3 separate regions of the Homo sapiens genome follow, and all the other regions are linked to region 1. The links are contacts of gene promoters, found by promoter capture Hi-C in human tissues and cell types (Jung and others, 2019). All regions are on one chromosome and are shown on one strand. Each heading gives the region's core, a stretch centred on a gene start or on the middle of the fragment in contact. The rest is flanking DNA. Distances are from core to core; before and after follow the strand shown.

Region 1 (2,968 bases), core at 120-2,619:
GATTGTTGAGGGCCTGGGGAAACCATGGCAAAGTAGATCCAGTTAGAGCCCATTAATCTTGATCATTCTGTTTTTTTGGTTTGTTTGTTGTTTTTTTTTTTTTTTTTTTTTGTCCATCTTGTTTCATTTGCTTGCCCTGCCCCCGAGATGGAGTCTTACTCTGTCGCCCAGGCTGGAGTGTAGTGGCACGATCTCGGCTCACTGCAATCTCTGCCTCTCGGGTTCAAGCTTGTCCAGGCTGATCTTGAACTCCTGACCTCGTGATCCCCTGCCTCAGCCTCCCAAAATGCTGGGATTACAGGGGTGAGCCACCGTGCCCAACCTCACTTGCTTTCTTATCCTTACACTCCCCCAGTCCCAGAGAAACTGCCACATACACCACAAAAACCAAACATCCCCCAATGACCTTAGCCGCATTGCTCCATTCACTCCCAGGTGAGAATTCAGGTAAACGTCCACAAAGGTCACAGGCAACGTACATACGGTTCTATTATATCCCATATATTACCCCTTCATGTCCTAAAGAAGACATTTTCTCTTAGAGATTTTCATTTTAGTATATCTTTAAAAAAAAATCTTGTGTTAACTTGCCTCCATCTTTTTCTTGGGTGAGGACACCCAGGAATGACCCTTTTGTGTCTATGATACTGCTGTTCACAGCTTTTCTTGATAGGCCTAGTACAATCTTGGGAACAGGGTTACTGTATACTGAAGGTCTGACAGTAGCTCTTAGACTCGCCTATCTTAGGTAGTCATGCTGTGCCTTTTTTTTCCATTGGTGTATTGTATTTGATTTGTCTCTGATATATTTGGAGTTTTTCTGAGAACTGGAGCAGTAATGCAGCATCGACCTATTAAAATACATTTTAAGCCTTTAAAAAAAAACAGTACCTATCTCATAGGGGTGCTGTGATAACGAAATTAGGTAATCTGTATTGATTGACTTTTAACCATAAGAATATATACAGGTTTTAAATTTATTTATTTATTGAAGAGATGGGGGTCTCTCTATGTTGCCCAGGCTGGTTTCACATTCCAGGGCTCAGGCAATCCTTTCGCCTCAGCCTCCTTAATAGCTGGGACTCTAGGCGCGCACCACTACACCTGGCAGGTTTTATCTTCAAAGGTGAAGAAGGCACTAAGGTCTAGATGCTGAAGCCGATTTCCCAGGTGTCCCCCAAGGTTTGACCCCGCCCACACTTCTCTGGCTATGCGGGCGGCGTCGCTGCGCATGCGCGCGAGTAGAGCAGGGAGGTGCTGGCGCGGCCGCCAGGAGGCGCAGCTAAGTCGCGGCTGCTCTTCCTGGTTCCCAGAGGCCCAGACTTGGACATAGGAGCCGGCGCAAGCTCCGTGCGCATGCGCGCTCCCCTCTCACGCAGCCAACATGGCTCCAGTGGAGCACGTTGTGGCGGATGCTGGGGCTTTCCTGCGGCATGCGGCTCTGCAGGTACGGGGAGCTCCCTCCGGGACGAGAGAGATCTGGGCTGGCCGCCCCTCCCGGAGTGCGTGGAGTCGCGCGGAGCGTTGCTTGGTGCGGGTGGGTCTGAGCTGGGGCGTTCTGTCCGCAGGACATCGGGAAGAACATTTACACCATCCGGGAGGTGGTCACTGAGATTCGGGACAAGGCCACACGCAGGCGGCTCGCTGTCCTGCCCTACGAGCTGCGGTTCAAGGAGCCCTTACCGGAATACGTGCGGCTGGGTGAGTGCCTCTGCCCTAGCGTTGACGGGAAGCTGGGGTCCAGGGCGCAGATGGCACCCAGTTGGGTGCGAGTTGGGGTCTAGCTGCCTTATCAGAGCAGTAGATTTAGAGCCAGCACTTTCTAGGAGATTGTGGTAGGAGAGAGGCTTCCTGGGTCTGGAGTCCTCCAGTAACTAGCTGTATGCTCTCGGGCATAGCATTCAAATTTGGGCCTCGTTTACCTCATCCGCAAAATGGGAATAATAATTGTATCTGTCTCCAAGGTTGCTGTGAGCATGAACTGAGGAATATGGCAGTCAGCTCAGTGTCAAGCACTTTGCAGACAAGCAATAAATTTATTTGGATTTAAAATAAGAGTTTGGATCTCTTGCTATTACTCTCGTCCATTTCTTTTCAGTAGATTGGGCTGATGACTGGATACAAAGATCTGCACCTGGCAGAGCTTTAAAAAGGGAATGCTTTGCATTGTATTAAATGTGAAAGAAAATTAAGCTGGGCGCGGTGGCTTACGGCCTGTAATCCCAGCACTGGGAGACCGAGGCGGGCGCATCACCTGAGGTCAGGAGTTTGAGACCAGCCTGACCAACATGGTGAAACCCTGCCTCTACTAAAAATACAAAATTAGCTGGGCGTGGTGGTGTGCTCCTGTAATCCCAGCTACTTGGGAGGCTGAGGCAGGAGAATTGCTTGAACCTGGAGGTGGAGGTTGCAGTGAGCCGAGATCGTACCACTGCACTCCAGCCTGGGCGACAGAGCGAGACTCTGTCTCAAAAAAAATAAGAAATAAAGAAAATTAAAGAATTGTCTCTTGGCTTAGGAGTCAGCGTTGTTCTCTTGTTGGGAATCAAGGTGATACCCAGGAAAGGCCCCTCAGTGGTTGGAAGTGTTTTAGAGGTTAGAGGCTGATAGTGGAGATGATGTTACCTCCTCTGTTTGTGATTTCTACGATTTTCTCCACCAACTTAGTAGCTCTGTGATCTTTGCCAACTTACTAAATCTTTCCGAGGAAATACTAATAGTACTTTTGAAGAATGGCAAAGGATGAAATGCATTAACACATAAAGCTTTTAATGCAGTGCCTAGTACACAGTAAGTGCACAGTAAATTTTCGTTGCTGCTAATGTCTGTTTTTTAGGAAATAAGAGCAATATACCTAGTGTTCCTTGTACCAGGGTAGCAGGAGACATCTTTCTGTTAATTTCAGGAAATTTTAAGTGTTTATTATGGATGACTCTGGAGAATAACAGCAGTCTGACATGTATTATGC
Region 2 (2,968 bases), core at 343-2,842, 150 kb after region 1:
TTGTTACCAGTAAAATAAGCTCATTTCTGGAATGTAAGCAATGAAAAATGTCAACATACATTCATTTTAAAATTTAGAACACATACTTAAAACAGAATTTTGCTGAGTGCTTATAAAACCAATACTGAATAGAGATCTGTTCCATGGCTATTAACAGCTAACCATATTATATAACCATATATTTAATAATCATTCCTTTCTAAACTAATCATGTCCTTGTAAACATACATAATAATCTATCAATGAAAAGAAACAAGCAGAATTACAATTTATATTATTTTACATATATTATTTTGTTGTTGATCTTGAAAGACAGTCTAATATTAAATTCACAAGATCAACAGCATTTTCAAAAATAAGAAAAAACTAATTTTGTCACCATTTGTTCATTTCGTGTGCATAGGTACACACACAGTAAATCACATGTTCACAGAAACCCGAGTCTGCTCCCAAAAAGCTTTCAGTCCAGTGAGGTTGACTGAAAGCACATAAATAGCCAATCAAAACTGTATCAAGACACCAGAGCTATGAGGGAAAAAAGGTAGTAGGAGAGAAGAAATATATAGAGGGCCATGCAAGAATGGTATGAATGTAATGAATGTAGTTTTAAGGGATTAATCTAATCTAAATTAATCTAAAATTCACATTAAAAGCAAGAATTTTAGAGGTAGAAGTGGTGAAAGTATTTGGTGTAACCCTCAGTTTTTACGGAGAAGAAATTATGTTCCAATTAGGTTACAACTTCCTTTGTAGAGCCAAGACTAGCTAAAGCTGGGTCCCAGGCAGGAGAATAGCTGGCTGAAAGATAAATTCTTTCCCCAGCATTCCTGTCTATGCAATTAGAGTAACACTGAGGTTAGGAATGCCATCTATTTTACTTACTATATTATTATGCCTGGCACATAATGGGCATTTCAATAATGTGCTTAATAAATAAACAAATGAATGAATAAGCAAATCATCTACCTTAAGTGATTCTACCCAAACAATTCTAAAACATAAATTCCTGTTTTTATACCATAATCTTAGAGATGAAAAACAAAAATATTAGACAAACAAAAACCAAAAAAAACCCATCTTGTTTTCCTTTCTGTCATTACCAGAATATCCTACTACCTGAACTAAAAATGTTATCTTTCTATGTTATATTTAATCCAAATACCCTGTCCCCTCACGTCCTATCTTCCAACTTCCACCCCATTATCACCTAAATCACCAATTTTCTGATTAACAAAAATCACTTTTCATATCTCAGGGTCTTCACTTTCAGTTATTTTTAAAGCCTTAAAAAGTTAGTTTTCTTTTTTTCTATTTATACGCACAATTTTTTTCCCTTCTTTGACCCAACACTGAAGAACTCAACAAGACACTCGCTCTATCTGTCTCTCTCTCTCTCTCTCTTCTTGTCTCACTCTGTTGTCCAGATTGGAGTGCGGTGGCACAATCATTGCTCATTGCAGCCTCAACCTCCCAGGCTCAAGTGATCCTCACACTTCAATGTCCCAAGTATGCTGGGCCTACAGGCTCATGCCACCATGTCCAGCTAATATTTTCTTTTTTCTTTTTTTTTTTTTTTTTTTTTTCAGTAGAGACAGGGTCTCACCATGTTGTCCAGGCTGGTCTTGAATTCCTGGGCTCAAGCAATTCTACCACCTTGGCCTCTCGAAGTGCCGGTATTACAGGTGTGAGCTACTGCACCTGGTCCTACTTTGTCTTTTCTATTCTACACAAAGATGATCACCCACAAGCAAGTATTCAGACCTCATACTTTGAGATATAAGCTGATGTTTACAGAGATCAAAAATAAGTGTCTACAATGAGTGGCAATGAACAAATGATCAAATTCATTACTTCTGCCTCTTAATTCAATTTTTTCCATTTTAACTTTGTTTCCCTTACTTTCCGTACAACTGCAGAATGCCTCTAACTTAAGACTGGTTTTCAACAGGGAATACCAGAATTTCATGTAGACATATGTATATTTTTTTTAACCTGAATGAAGATGCCTGGGATTTCATCACAGACCGACTACTGAATAGGGGTTTACAGGGAATAAGATCACAGAATGTATATGTGTATAAAGCTTCACAAGTGATTCTGGCTAACAGCCATTACTCTGAAGCATGAAATGCAGCTGGAATGAAAATGGATTGGCTTGTATTTACTACCTCTTTAAGCATTGCTAGTTAATTCATTTTTTTCTGAAGAGTCTAGGAAAGAACAGCAACCAAAGACCTGAACCACCTTCTTCTGCAGATTACCTAAATACTTTTTTTTTTTTTGAGGCGGAGTCTCACTCTGTTGCCCAGGCTGGAGTGCAGTGGCATGATCTTAGCTCACTGCAAGCTCTGCCTCCTGGGTTCACACTATTCTCCTGCCTCAGCCTCCCGAGTAGCTGCGACTACAGATGCCTGCCACCACGCCTGGCTAATTTTTTGTATTTTTAGTACAGACGGGTTTTCACCGTGTTAGCCAGGATGGTCTCGATCTCCTGACCTCGTGATCCGCCCGCCTTGGCCTCCTAAAGTGCTGGAATTACAGGCGTGAGCCACCACACCTGGCCAGATTACCTAAATTCTTCAACCTAGAGGAAAAAACAATTATATTTACATAACAAAAAATTAGCCGGGCGTGGTGGCAGGCACCTGTAGTCCCAGCTACTTGGGAGGCTGAGGCAGGAGAATGGCGTGAACCCAGGAGGCAGAGCTTGCAGTGAGCAGAAATTGTGCCATTGCACTGTACCACAGCCTGACTAAAATGACAACTACTATTTCACATGGTGGTAGATAATTTTCAATATACTTATTTTTAGTAGAGACAGGATTTCACCGTGTTAGCCAGGATGGACTCGATCTCCTGACCTCGTGATCCGCCCGCCTCGGCCTCCCAAAGTGCTGGGATTACAGGCGTGAGCCACCGCGCCTGGCCACCCAGCAGTCTTCTTAAGCTTCTTAAGTTGAAGTGGTAG
Region 3 (2,968 bases), core at 235-2,734, 150 kb before region 1:
TTTTTTAAATAGTCAGATGTGCTGGCACATACCTGTAATCGTACCTACTCAGGAGACTGAGGCAGGAGGATCACTTGAGCCCAGGAGTTGGAGGCTGCAGTGAGCCGTGATCACACCTCTGCACTCCAGCCTAGGCAATAGACCCCAACTCAAAAAAAAAAAAAAAGAAAATGCGCACTGGGTATAGTTAAAGATCTTCTCCCTCTGAATGCCCTTCTGATTTAAAAGCAAAGGGGTAACAATATTGCCAGCTCAAGAGGCTGGTGTTTCGTCTGTGGGGATTTGGCAGGGCCTTCTAGCACAGAAGACAGCCGACATACTGTAGCTTCACAGCAATTCTCCAAATACCTTCTGTCTGCTCGGTAACAGAGGAGCAAATCTGATACCCTCTTTATTCATCTGAATTTGGAAATGAAGAAAGTCCTGAGAAAGATATTTGGCTTAAGGATAAGTATTAAAAAATGAAAGCGCTGAGCGCCAATGGCAGCAAGCCTCTCTTTTATAACATCTGCTCCTAATGCAATTTAAGTAGCTGAGAACTCTCCAGCACTCCCGAAGAATTTAGCTGCATCCTTCCCTTCCTTGAAAACAGTTCTTTGGGTAGTTTTGTGGCACAAAAGCCCTAATACTAGTACGCTCATTTTTCAGTCACTATTTGGAAAACTCTAATATTTGGGTGGGCTGCCCCTTTTATAAAGACAAAATATCTGTTGTAGCAATTGGAGCTTAAAAACAAAACTTAAACACATTTTTCTTTCTTTCTTTTTTTTTTTTTTTGAGACAGATTCTTGCTCTGTCGCCAGGCTGGAGGGCAGTGGCGCAATCTCGGCTCACTGCAACCTCCACCTCCTGGGTTCAACCGATTCCCCTGCCTCAGCCTCCTGAGTAGCTGGGACTACAGGTATGCGCCACCACACCTGGCTAATTTTTTTGTATTTTAGTAGAGATGGGGTTTCACCATGTTGGCCAGGATGGTCTCGATCTTCTGACCTTGTGATCCACCCTCCTCGGCCTCCCAAAGTGCTGGGATTGCAGGTGTGAGCCACTGCGCCCGGCCATTTTTCTTTTATTCCAAAAATTCTTTCAACTTTCATCTTATCAGCAGTCTCCACTTTTGACATCTTTTATGTTCATTTGAGACAAGGAGAGAAACACTGATTTTATTACACTTTGGCTAACGTTTTAATATGAAGGTAGGCTAATGCTTCAAATTCCATGAAATAAATGTCTGTAATTGACACAGTGGTATTCCCACACACTGCCAGAAATGAAATCAGTGCTGAGTCCTCTTCCCTTATATTCAACAGTTTCAGCAGGTCTTCAGAGGACACAGGCCCAGATAAGGCCCACCCTTCCATCTTTGATCACGGCTGATGCTGGAAATGAAAGTCTCTCTTTCAGGGACTATTATTGTCCCGCAAAGCTCAATGTCCTTCTATGAACCCCCTCAACTGGCTTAGCGAGAAGAATAGTTGCCAGAGGAACAAGACCTTTCTTCCATCACCTTTTTTGATATCATTTTTTCCTTTTGCAGTTGGACCCCTGCTCAGATTAAATGTCCCTGCGGGTCCTCCCTGATCCATGACCTGGCCTGCCTCCCTTTCTCACAGAACCTCACTCCTCCCTCACCTGCATGGCTATTCATAATTCACACAAATCTCTCCCCTTCATTCAGGCAGCACAGTCGGTGGATTCTATCACCAACCAGACGAGCCTCCTGATTCCTGTTCCTCCTCAGTGGCCGCTGACTCACATAGATGGAGCCTCCGACTGTCTTGGTTTGGTCCCCCCCATGCCAAGAAAGTGACACTGGTATCAATTTTTCATCAGCGCATCCCTGTCAGAGGTTATATTTCTGTCACTTATAAGCAACTCCTTCACACTGAGATTAAAAGGCTTTTCAATCAAACTACCCACGGGTCTCAACACTGCATCTTGGTCACATGGGTCATCTCCTGTCCCCCTCGATAGCTTCCGTTGATGCTCTCAGGAACAGTGTTCAAAGCACCAAGCTTGTTTTCAGTCCCTACCCAACACATTGCTCCTTGGCCTTCAATGAGTAACATTTGGTTGGATCATGGACTACACGAGGTCTTTGTACTTCAAAGTACTTTAAAAGCAGTCTCCGTCTGACTGCAATTAATCTTAGGTACTTTTTCCTTTCCCTAAATTACCTTTGCACTGATGGATTGTAGCTGCCCTTGGTTCAGTTGTATATGAACCATGTTCCAACCCTACGTCCCAATCCACTCACAATTGCCATCTTCACAGGTTAAAGGCTAAACATCTCCATCTCATTATTAGAATGACATCAGCATCTCTCTCATGTTATCAGACAGGAAATCATCTGGTCTCCTGAACCATGTTTTCTTGTCAAAGGTTTCCCAAAGGTCTTCAGGAAATTAATGCTCAATTACCCGTTGTTACAGTGTGTGTTCAACCATTCTGATCACCATATTTCTTGGTCAGATTCACCTGTTTGAACCAAATCAACATTTCACCAAGAATAGGATTAAGCTAAAAGGGATTAAAGCTGGGCAAAGAGTTCGAGTGAATTTTAGATAAATTCTCTATTTATATATTTATTTATTTAGAGACGAAGTCTCGTTCTGTCACCCAGGCTGGAGTGCAGTGGTGCAATCTCAACTCACTGTAACCTCCATCTCCCGAGTTCAAGTGATGCTCCTGCCTCAGCCTCCCGAGTAGCTGGGATTACAGGGACTCGCCACCACGCCTGGCTAACAGCAATTCTTTTCAAGTGGCCCTTATAAATTGATACACCAAAATGGTCAAAATTTCAGTCTTGGTAAGAGCATTATCAGCTTGTATTATTCATTAATTTGCTTACTTTTCACTGACACAAGCACTGGGCATTATTAGTAAAGCTAACTCAATCAAAATCCACTCTCTCCATTAGAAAATAAGACCATGTGAAACCCCGTCTCTACTCAAAATACAAAAAAATTAG

Evidence for each region. Contacts are between HindIII fragments. The study calls those that stand out against the background at their distance.
Region 2: a contact is called between a fragment that was not itself captured here and the fragment with the promoter of NOB1 in region 1, in 2 of the 25 tissues and cell types used here (bladder and dorsolateral prefrontal cortex).
Region 3: a contact is called between a fragment that was not itself captured here and the fragment with the promoter of NOB1 in region 1, in 1 of the 25 tissues and cell types used here (dorsolateral prefrontal cortex).

What each region holds. Positions count from the first base shown.
Region 1 is chr16:69,753,327-69,756,294 of GRCh38, reverse strand. It overlaps NOB1 (NIN1 (RPN12) binding protein 1 homolog), which reads left to right and starts at 1,369. Exons shown (of 9, transcript NM_014062.3): 1 at 1,369-1,447; 2 at 1,569-1,701. The coding sequence starts at 1,385. It also overlaps the pseudogene NONOP1. RefSeq lists enhancers at 1,077-1,699, 1,700-2,323. The HindIII fragment of the contact is 4,198 bases long and covers 1-2,968 here.
Region 2 is chr16:69,608,435-69,611,402 of GRCh38, reverse strand. The region is part of intron 2 of NFAT5 (nuclear factor of activated T cells 5); the gene reads right to left. Among named protein-coding and RNA genes, the nearest start is that of NFAT5, 44 kb to the right of the region's middle. The HindIII fragment of the contact is 3,452 bases long and covers 1-2,968 here.
Region 3 is chr16:69,901,576-69,904,543 of GRCh38, reverse strand. The region is part of intron 8 of WWP2 (WW domain containing E3 ubiquitin protein ligase 2); the gene reads right to left. Among named protein-coding and RNA genes, the nearest start is that of MIR140, 30 kb to the left of the region's middle. The HindIII fragment of the contact is 7,452 bases long and covers 1-2,968 here.